Regions from separate parts of the Homo sapiens genome. Here all the other regions are linked to region 2. The links are contacts of gene promoters, found by promoter capture Hi-C in blood cells and fetal thymus (Javierre and others, 2016). All regions are on one chromosome and are shown on one strand. Each heading gives the region's core, a stretch centred on a gene start or on the middle of the fragment in contact. The rest is flanking DNA. Distances are from core to core; before and after follow the strand shown.

Region 1 (2,898 bases), core at 209-2,708, 590 kb before region 2:
AGTGGAATGAGCATATCAGGCTAATTAATTAACATATCCATCACCTCACATACCATTTTTTTGTTGTGAGAACATTTAAAATGTACTCTTAGCAATTAACCATGGTCACCTTGCTGTGCAATAGATCACCAAAACTATTCCTCTTGTATAACTGAAACTTTGTACCCTTTGACCAACATTTCCCCTTTTACCACCCACCCCACCCTCCTCAGCCTCTGGTAACCATTACTCTACTTCTCTGTGTTCATATTTTTAGATTCTGCATAAAAGTGAGATCATGTGATATTTGTCTTTTTGTACCTGGCTTATTTTACTTAGCATAATGCCCCCTAGATTCATTCATGTCGTCATAAATGACAGAATTTTAGTCTTTTTTAAGGCTGAATAGTATTTCATTGAGTGCATATACCACATTTTTTCGATCTATTTATCTGTTGATAGGCACTTAGATTGTTTATATATCTTAGTTATTGTGAATAATGTTGTAGCGAACATGGCAGGGCAAATATCTCTTCAACATACTGATTTTAATTCCTTTGGATATATACTCAGAAGTGGGATTGCAGGATCGTCCTAAGTCTCACCTTTTGGTCCTTACTCAGATCTTGTTGTTTTGGGGTGTTTTATTTTGTTTTGTGGTTTGGTTTTTTTTTGTCTTTTTGTTGTTGTTGTTGTTTGTTTTTTTGTTTTGGTTTTTGGGTCTGCAGATTCTAGAGTATTTTCTGGATAGTTGAGACTTCCAAATTATTGATCTTTGTTACTTTACTTTTCTTCTTTGCATGTGAACCAGTCATAAAATCAGACCATAATTTTTAAACCTGCTATCATTGATTCCTTAAACTTGCACACAATTAGAAAGCAGAGAGTAGGATCAATATTCAGAGACTAGGTCTCTGAATACACCAAGGAGTCTATGCCATCTCTATCACCTTCAGACCTGAGCTATCTAGTTGAATGCATCCTTGGAACTATTTTTAACCCTATGGGCTTCTGAGATACAGGTAGAGACCAGCCTGGGTGTATCACTTTCCACGGCCAAGGGGCTTGCAGCCAAGATCACTTTTACTAAAAATAGTTCACAAGCTAAGGCTCTCCAATCATACCTTGATATGGTTCTGGGAGATCCTTTTCTATTCATTCCCATGACCTAAGCTGAAATAGTGCTGGAGGGCTTGTGAAAATCAAATCTGGGTTTTAGGATAGCATATCTGTGATTATATATGGTTCAGCTATAGTATTTGAGTTTAAGCCAAATATCCTACTAATATTTCAGGTAAAGAGATTTTTATCGTAGTTGTGTGTACGTATGTGCCATTTAATTGTTTGTTTTAGGGTACTTAAGTGCATATGTGTGTATGTGTGCATATATTTGTGTGTGTGTGTTGTGTGTGCCTACGTATGTATGTATTTTTCCCCCAGTGTTTACCTAGTGAGTGAAACAGAATTATTAACATCTTTTTTGAATGAATACTACATGCCAGTTGTTTTGCATGAAAGTAAAAACTGATATTAAAACTTTATTTTCTTTTTTAATTTCAGAGAAGTATTCAAGTATTTATACAGATAGGAATCAAGATAATCAACAATGTCTGTCACTGAGGAAGACCTGTGCCACCATATGAAAGTAGTAGTTCGTGTACGTCCGGAAAACACTAAAGAAAAAGCAGCTGGATTTCATAAAGTGGTTCATGTTGTGGATAAACATATCCTAGTTTTTGATCCCAAACAAGAAGAAGTCAGTTTTTTCCATGGAAAGAAAACTACAAATCAAAATGTTATAAAGAAACAAAATAAGGATCTTAAATTTGTATTTGATGCTGTTTTTGATGAAACGTCAACTCAGTCAGAAGTTTTTGAACACACTACTAAGCCAATTCTTCGTAGTTTTTTGAATGGATATAATTGCACAGGTATTTGTTTCAATTTGGGATTTAATTTCTCTATCCGATTTCACTTTTGCATTAGGACGGACATCTACTTGACCCTTCTAAATATAATCAAATTTAAGGAGCTTGTATGCTAAAAATTCTTAAGAAATTCAATAGACTTGAACTGTAAATATAGACTTTGAAATTTTAGTTATCATATATAACTTATACATCATTTGTAAACCTTTCTCTTCCAGGGCCTTACTGTGGCCCCTATAGACATCTGTCCTTTCAGTTGCCTATGTTATTAAACCACATGCTTATTGCAATTAACATCAGTTTTCTCATAACCTGTATTTATAACTTTTCCTACAGCTTACCTATGTAATTATCTATTCCTGGAGAGTAGTCAGACATTTCTGAACATTTGACAGTTTCTTTTCAGCAGTTTTTCTTCATGGCACATTGAAATAAAAATGTTTAAGTTGGCGAAGGATAGGAGGAGACTGAGGATCAAAAAACTACCTATGGGGTACTACACTCCTTACCTGAGTGATGAAAAAATCTGTACACTAAACCCCGCAGCATGCAATTTACCCATGTAACAAACCTGCACTGTACCCCCAAACCTAAAATAAAAATTGGAAAGGGGGTAAAAGTGTTAAGATCCCATGTTAATTATCTCATGCCCTTTAGCTCATTGTTAGCCCAAGAAGCATCTTTAGTGCTTTTTTTGGCCTTTCAAGAAAGCCATGTTGATTTCCTTTTTAAAAAAAAAAAAAGAGAGAGAGAGAGAGAGATACCCAAGATGCAAAATGGCCAGTTTTTCAGTGCCTACCAGGCACTAAACACCATTATTAATATCTTATTTTTGTAATTATTAGTATTTATGATATTTTCCCCAAGACAGCTCACAACTATAACATGTTTCACTGTCTTTTCCTGATTCATTTCAGTTTTATCATGGAAGACATACCCTCTTGATCAAGTAAGGATGGAGTGTGGTTTATTGATTGGTACTACTGTGATT
Region 2 (3,104 bases), core at 555-3,054:
AAGGAGAGGAGCAAGAGAATGGAAAGAAAAAATATTTGAAGAAATAAGGGCAATGTTTGCATTTGTCTTGCTCTACCTGGTATTCCTATCAAGGCACCTGGTATATATTAGGTGTTTAATAAACATTTCTTGAACACATTTGCAGCAAAAAAAAATGACAACGAGTAAGAGATAAGCACCTGAGTGTTACTGCAACGTATTTAGGCCATCAGAGGACAAAAAAGGGGAATAATATGGAGAAAAGGCTTGGTAGAAGTGGCATGCCTTCAGCAGGGACCCACGAAATGGGTTCAACTGAGTGTGTACAAAGTTTGGAGACTAGGAAGGGATGAAGAAGGGCATTCCACACAAGAACAACACAAATGAAGATTTGGAGCCTGGCACAGTGGCCCACGCCTGTAATCCCAGCACTTCGGGAGGCCAAAGCAGGAGGACTGCTTGAGCTCAGGAGTTTGAGACCAGCCTGGGCAACATAGCAAGACCCCCATCTCTACTAAAAATTTAAAAATTTGCCAGGCATGGTGGTGCTTGCCTGTAGTCCTCGCTACTGGCAAGACTGAGACAGGAGGCTCTCTTGAGCTGTGATTGCACCACTGCACTCCAGTCTGGACAACAGAGAGAAACTCTGTCTCTAAAACAAACAAAAAGACTTGGAATCAGGAATAAATATGGTTGAAACTATACTATCTGGACTGAAGTGGTGGTTGCACTTAGTGGTAATGAGAAATGAAGTTAGTTGGATGAGTTAGGGTCAGAGTATGCAAGGCTTTAGAAATAGGAAACAGGAGAGAAACCATTGAAAGTTTCTGAACAGAACTTGTGATGATGAAATCAGAATTCAAGGGGAGAAAAAGGAGCATAGTGGTGGCATCCATGATGGATTTGGAGAAGAAAATACTAAAGGTGAATGGAAAGGGTGGACCAGGGGCAAACAGGTTATTAAAACAGTCCCATCATGAAGTGTTGAAATGCTGGATGTAAACACACCTACCACAGTATCAGTACAGACTAAGGGCTTGGATAAATGTTAGTCAAATCCAAGTACTAAAATTCTTCTTGGTTCGCGAAAATTTCAGAAGTGGCTCAAAAATCTGTAATGCATTAAGAATATTATTTGCTTCACAATATTTCATTTACTTAAGATTTTATAAGAATCAGCTGCTTATAAAATTGTTACTTTGTGGTGCACCAAAGCACCTTGTTCTCTCCCTCACCCAGATATGTTTCATGCTCTTTGTACTTTCCACCCCTTAACAGATTTGGAGGGAAGATTCAAGCCGTGGATTTTTAAATTTAAAGCAATGCTGTCACAAATTGAGAACTGACAACATGTCATTACACATTTAATTGCCACCGAATCCCAGAGTTTAAAAATTGTAAGGACCTAAGAGATAGGACCTCTCGTTGTACAGATGCGGAAACTGAGGCTGAGAGAGGGTAAGTGAACAGTCCCAGGTCACAGAGCTGCTAATGGGCAAGGTGGGACTAGAATCCAGGCTTGACTCCTCTACGCTGAGCCAAGGGTTCGAAGCGATTGGGATAAGGGAAGCCTGAGGCAGGGAACGAGAGTCAGGAAAGCAGCTCTTCCCAACCCTAGGAGGCCGGGGGACCTCGTCACCGCGGAAGGAGCGGAGCCAGGCCGACCTAAAAAGCCGCAAGTCCAGGTACCCTTACCCTGATGGCCGCGGCGACACACTCGGCCACCTTCCTGATCTCGCGATACTAGCCGGTACTCACTTTTCCGGCTTCCCCTAGGCCCCGCCCCCCCACCTCAGCCCTTCTGTCGTCATTTCCTGTGGGTCTGTAGGTTAAGGGAGAAGATGGCGGCGCTAGGGGAACCCGTGCGGCTGGAGAGAGGTGAGTGCAGCCGAGGCTCGGCGGAGGTGGGCGGAAGGGTTGGGGGAGTGCTGTGTCGCTGGAGGGGAGGAGGAGTGACCCAGGCTCTGAGATCCGGGCCACGCTGTCCCTTGTGCCGGCGCCAGAGGCCGCCGTTGTCTCTGTGCCTGGCTCTAGGAAGGGCGCTTACGGTATTTTGTCTGTTAACCGTAAGCCCTCCTCTGTTCACACGGACTGTTCCAAGGCACAGCACAACTAAACACAACCTGCCCGCTTCGCAGACACACGCCGCACACGCGCTCCCTTGGTGAGCACAGCAGAAGCAGCATTCGGAGACCCGTACACCCGAAAAGCAAACGTCACACACCCGGTTCGCACAGACTACACTCATTGCCTGTACAGCACGAGAACGGACACACGGTACAATTCAACAGAACCTCCTTTCCCCGCTGTTTGCACACAAACTCCTTCATTACTTTCTCCACAACCTCGCTTGTATTCGGGTTGGGGTATTTGCTAGCTTTTGTGCCCCTCCTAGAAATGGAGAGGTTGCTTTAAAAACAATCCTACTGACTTGGTCTTGGGAAGGAGGTTACGTAAGTAAGCCGAATAGTGGTAGATGCTAAAACACTTGCAGGTGCAGTGTTTTTCATTTCTTACAAACCCTACAATTGCAAACTGGTTGGCTGATTGCTTCCTAGAGCAGACTGTCAAGGAAAATAAAACCACCTCTGCTGAGTAATTAGAGATAGAGAAGCCTACGAAAATAACTGGCTATGCGCCTACCATGATTTCCAGCATTCCAGCGTTTCCAGTCCTTTTACAGATTTCCAGCATTCCACTCTGTCCCTAAGTCCTTTATTTCAAACAATTTCAAGCATGCTTTTCATACACCAGCATTAGAAATCATTGATAGGAATTGAGAAGTACAAATAAACATTTTGAGTACTGGTGGTAAAAAAAAATGTATATGTAGGATGGAGACTGAAATTATATTGCACATATTAACATTTGCAATTAGTCTAAATATTACTATTGTTCCCTAAGAAAACACATTTTTAGAATTACTGTACTTAGAAAAACCTCTTTCCTAATGCCTTCCCACAAACAAATGTGCACTTAATGTTGCTGATTTGCTCTTTACCGTGTTCACCATTTGGAAGCCTCACTGTAAATGAGATTGTTTCCGTTAAGCCTATTAAAGCATCATTTTAGAGGACTAGCTACTCTGGGAAGACTTGCCGAGTTAGGCCTAAGTCTCTGACATC
Region 3 (3,031 bases), core at 104-2,603, 610 kb before region 2:
AGATATAATGGTAAGCAAGACAAATATGTCCATGGCTTCATGGAGGGCAATCTACTAAGAGAGGTGTATATTGAACAAATAATCTCATCATAATTATAATTATGACTTATTAAGTTGCTATGAAGAAAAGTACATGATATATAATTGGGATACCTGTCTTCTGTGGAGGCTCATGAAAAGTTCCCATAAAAAGGTAAAACCTGACTCCAGGCCTGAAGGATGAAGATGAGGAGAGTTCCAGAAAGAGGAAACAGTACTTTTTCAGTTCCAGACAGGTTGGTTCCACCTTTGCTCTCCCCTTGCATTTTTCTCCTGAATTTCTTTTTTAATCTAGCTAACAACTTTGACTCTTTCTATTCCCATAGTAACAGCTAATGTTTATTGGGCTCAACTACTTGGAAGATACAATTCTAAACAATTTATGTATATTAACTCATCTAATCCTTACAGTAACCAGGAGTGAGATAGGTTCTCTTTCCTTATTTTACAGATAAGGAATCTGAGGCACAACCATGGAAAGTTAATTGACCAAACTGCACAGCTACTTGTACTAGTGGGGTACTTGTACCCTTATAATAACACTCAAAGAAGCCCCAAGGCACCAAGCTAAATTAGCACTACTACTGGGGCAAGAGTATCAGGTTTCCTATACTCTCCAAACTGCTACCATCTTAAACTAAGCAGAATTTAGCTATTTAGAAAATAACCAAACTTTTTTTTCTCCAGTTTTCAGAAATCAAGAATAAAAAGTTAATCTATTAGCCCAGACTAAAATATCTCCAGGAGAAAAAAAAAAGTTCTTAGGATAATACATTTTCACAAAAAGTTATTCACCTAGAATATGAAATGATGCAAACTAAGCAGGGAGAAATAATTATAATTTCTTTAATTTCTCCTTAACAATTAAAATTTTAAATACCTTCCAAGAGAAAGAGGATATTTTTCTCATAATTAAAACTAGTAAATATTTTAAGTGTATTTGAAAAACAAATCTGTAGTAAACTACATAGGTAGTAAACTAGCTATGATGCTAAAGAAATTCCCAAAATCACTATTTTCTTTAGGTGAGCACCTTTCAAGTATTAAAGAAAAAAGAACTATAAAATGCCTTGCACCTCACTTCAAATACATTCAGATATTTTTTAAAGTTCCTGTTACATCAAAAGTTTCATCTGGAGAATGGAGTGAACCTGCGAGGTGGAGCTTGCAGTAAGCTGAGATTGTGCCACTGTACTCCAGCCTGGACGACAGAGCGAAACTCCGTCTCAAAAAAAAACAAAAAAACAAAAAAAAGTTTCATCTGTAAATTCATCATTGAAGGTGATGCAGAAAAAGGTAATAGTAAGTAAGTAAGTGACTGATGCAAGTGAGTGTATGACTCATAGTTTGAAAAGGAAAATGATTTTGGGGAAAAGGCTCAGGAAGAAGAGAAGCAAATAATGGATTATGGACAAAATGAAGACCTTTCCTGTCCAAGGACTGTCACCAGTTCTTTATTACTTGAAGATTAAGGGAATAGTGAATAAAGCTGTCTGCCAGACAGCAGAAAAGGTAAGAAATAACATTGTCTCTAAGTGTACCTCACAAGAAAGTTTTTAGAAGTAACATTGGAAACATTAAACTTCTTATAAAAAGTTACTGGAAAACCCAACTCAAATCAGAAAAAGGAAAATGCCAAAATAAACCAACATTACATTTGTAGGTACTTGAACAGAATGAAACAGCAGTGTAGGTCAAGTTGTAGAATTATCTAATTTTATTCCACTTGGTTTTAGAAAATAGTTGGATACAATACTGATTTGCTAGAAGATGTAGTGCAATTTGTTTTTGTTTGTTTTTCTACTCCATGGCTTAGTGCAACATAAGCATTTGGCTTTGTTACTAGGGTTTAATAAACTAATACAATGTGCTTCGGTTTTTAGTTTCAGAAGTCAAGTTCAAGCCACTGAATTTGGTTCCAATTTTTACTAACTGCCCCTATCCTTTCATATATATATATATATATATATATATATATATATATATATACACACACACACACACACACACACATACATATATAGGTGTATATATGTATGTATATATACACACACTAACAAATATCACATATATTTCAATATACATTTTTTAAAACTCACACTTATGTATGGATTTTAATTGTTACCCCTGCATTATGGATCTTTTTAAAGCACGAAGAGAATTTCATTTTGATGAAGTCACTCACATTCAACAAGAAGTTTTATCCAATTTAATATTTTAATTTACATTTTCATGTATATTTGGAGTCCCACTACATGACAGCATTGAGCTAAATACTTTATACACGTAAATTCATTTAAGAATACTGGGTTTATCTGGGTGCAGCAGCTCACACCCATAGGACCAGCTACTCAGGAAGCTGAGACAGGAAGGATCACCTGAGCCCAGGAGTTCCAGACTACAGTGAGTTATGATCACATCACCATACTTCAGCCTCAACAACAGAGACAGACTCTCTCTAGAACAATTAAAATTTAAAAAAAAATTTTTTAAAGAATGCTGGATTTATTTTGTGTGTAAACTTGCCTGTGTATACTGCCTGAGGAGAAGGTAAATAATATTTTTATGAAGAACCCACATCGTATCACTGATGGCTTTTGTATGAGCAACATCTAGCCATTGTAGTACACCTTATACATATAGCTTAAATTTAGTTCATGAAAACTGCCTGATCCAACATGAAAAAGTTTCAGAAAAAAGAAAAGCTGGGTGTGTGCACACATGCACATGTTTCCTAGACAAGAGCTTAGAACCTAGGCAGTCCAGTTCCAGAATCTTTGCTCTTAACCACTAAGCAGTATGTTGGAAAAAGAAGAAAGATATAAAAATAACTGATTTAGATAAAAACAGTAGCTTCTAGAATAAGGGATCACATTTCTGAAGTCAGTACACTAAGAAATATAAGCATTAAATTATCTTTAAAAATTGAAGACAATCTACAATACTTTTTTCTCTTGTGAATGAATATACATATCAGAAAGTTTCTAGCTTT

What was found. The method cuts DNA at HindIII sites, captures the fragments that hold promoters and counts their contacts. A CHiCAGO score of 5 or more calls a contact.
Region 1: a contact is called between a fragment that was not itself captured here and the fragment with the promoter of LIN7C in region 2, in 9 of 17 cell types (non-activated CD4 T cells, total CD4 T cells, activated CD4 T cells and 6 more). The highest score is 9.6, in non-activated CD4 T cells.
Region 3: a fragment that was not itself captured here is called in contact with the fragment with the promoter of LIN7C in region 2 in 8 of 17 cell types (naive CD4 T cells, total B cells, non-activated CD4 T cells and 5 more); the score reaches 7.9 in naive CD4 T cells.

The regions. Positions count from the first base shown.
Region 1 is chr11:28,096,635-28,099,532 of GRCh38, reverse strand. It overlaps KIF18A (kinesin family member 18A), which reads left to right. Exons shown (of 17, transcript NM_031217.4): 2 at 1,540-1,910. The coding sequence starts at 1,586. Among named protein-coding and RNA genes, the nearest start is that of KIF18A, 10 kb to the left of the region's middle. The HindIII fragment of the contact is 3,247 bases long and covers 1-2,898 here.
Region 2 is chr11:27,505,469-27,508,572 of GRCh38, reverse strand. LIN7C (lin-7 cell polarity scaffold C) reads left to right here and starts at 1,804. Exons shown (of 5, transcript NM_018362.4): 1 at 1,804-1,857. The coding sequence starts at 1,821. It overlaps BDNF-AS (BDNF antisense RNA), which reads right to left and starts at 1,721. Exons shown (of 7, transcript NR_033315.1): 1 at 1,675-1,721. RefSeq lists enhancers at 1,398-1,687, 1,758-1,887, 1,044-2,243. The HindIII fragment of the contact is 9,378 bases long and covers 1-3,104 here.
Region 3 is chr11:28,116,257-28,119,287 of GRCh38, reverse strand. The region is part of intron 3 of METTL15 (methyltransferase 15, mitochondrial 12S rRNA N4-cytidine); the gene reads right to left. Among named protein-coding and RNA genes, the nearest start is that of METTL15, 9.4 kb to the right of the region's middle. The HindIII fragment of the contact is 7,760 bases long and covers 1-3,031 here.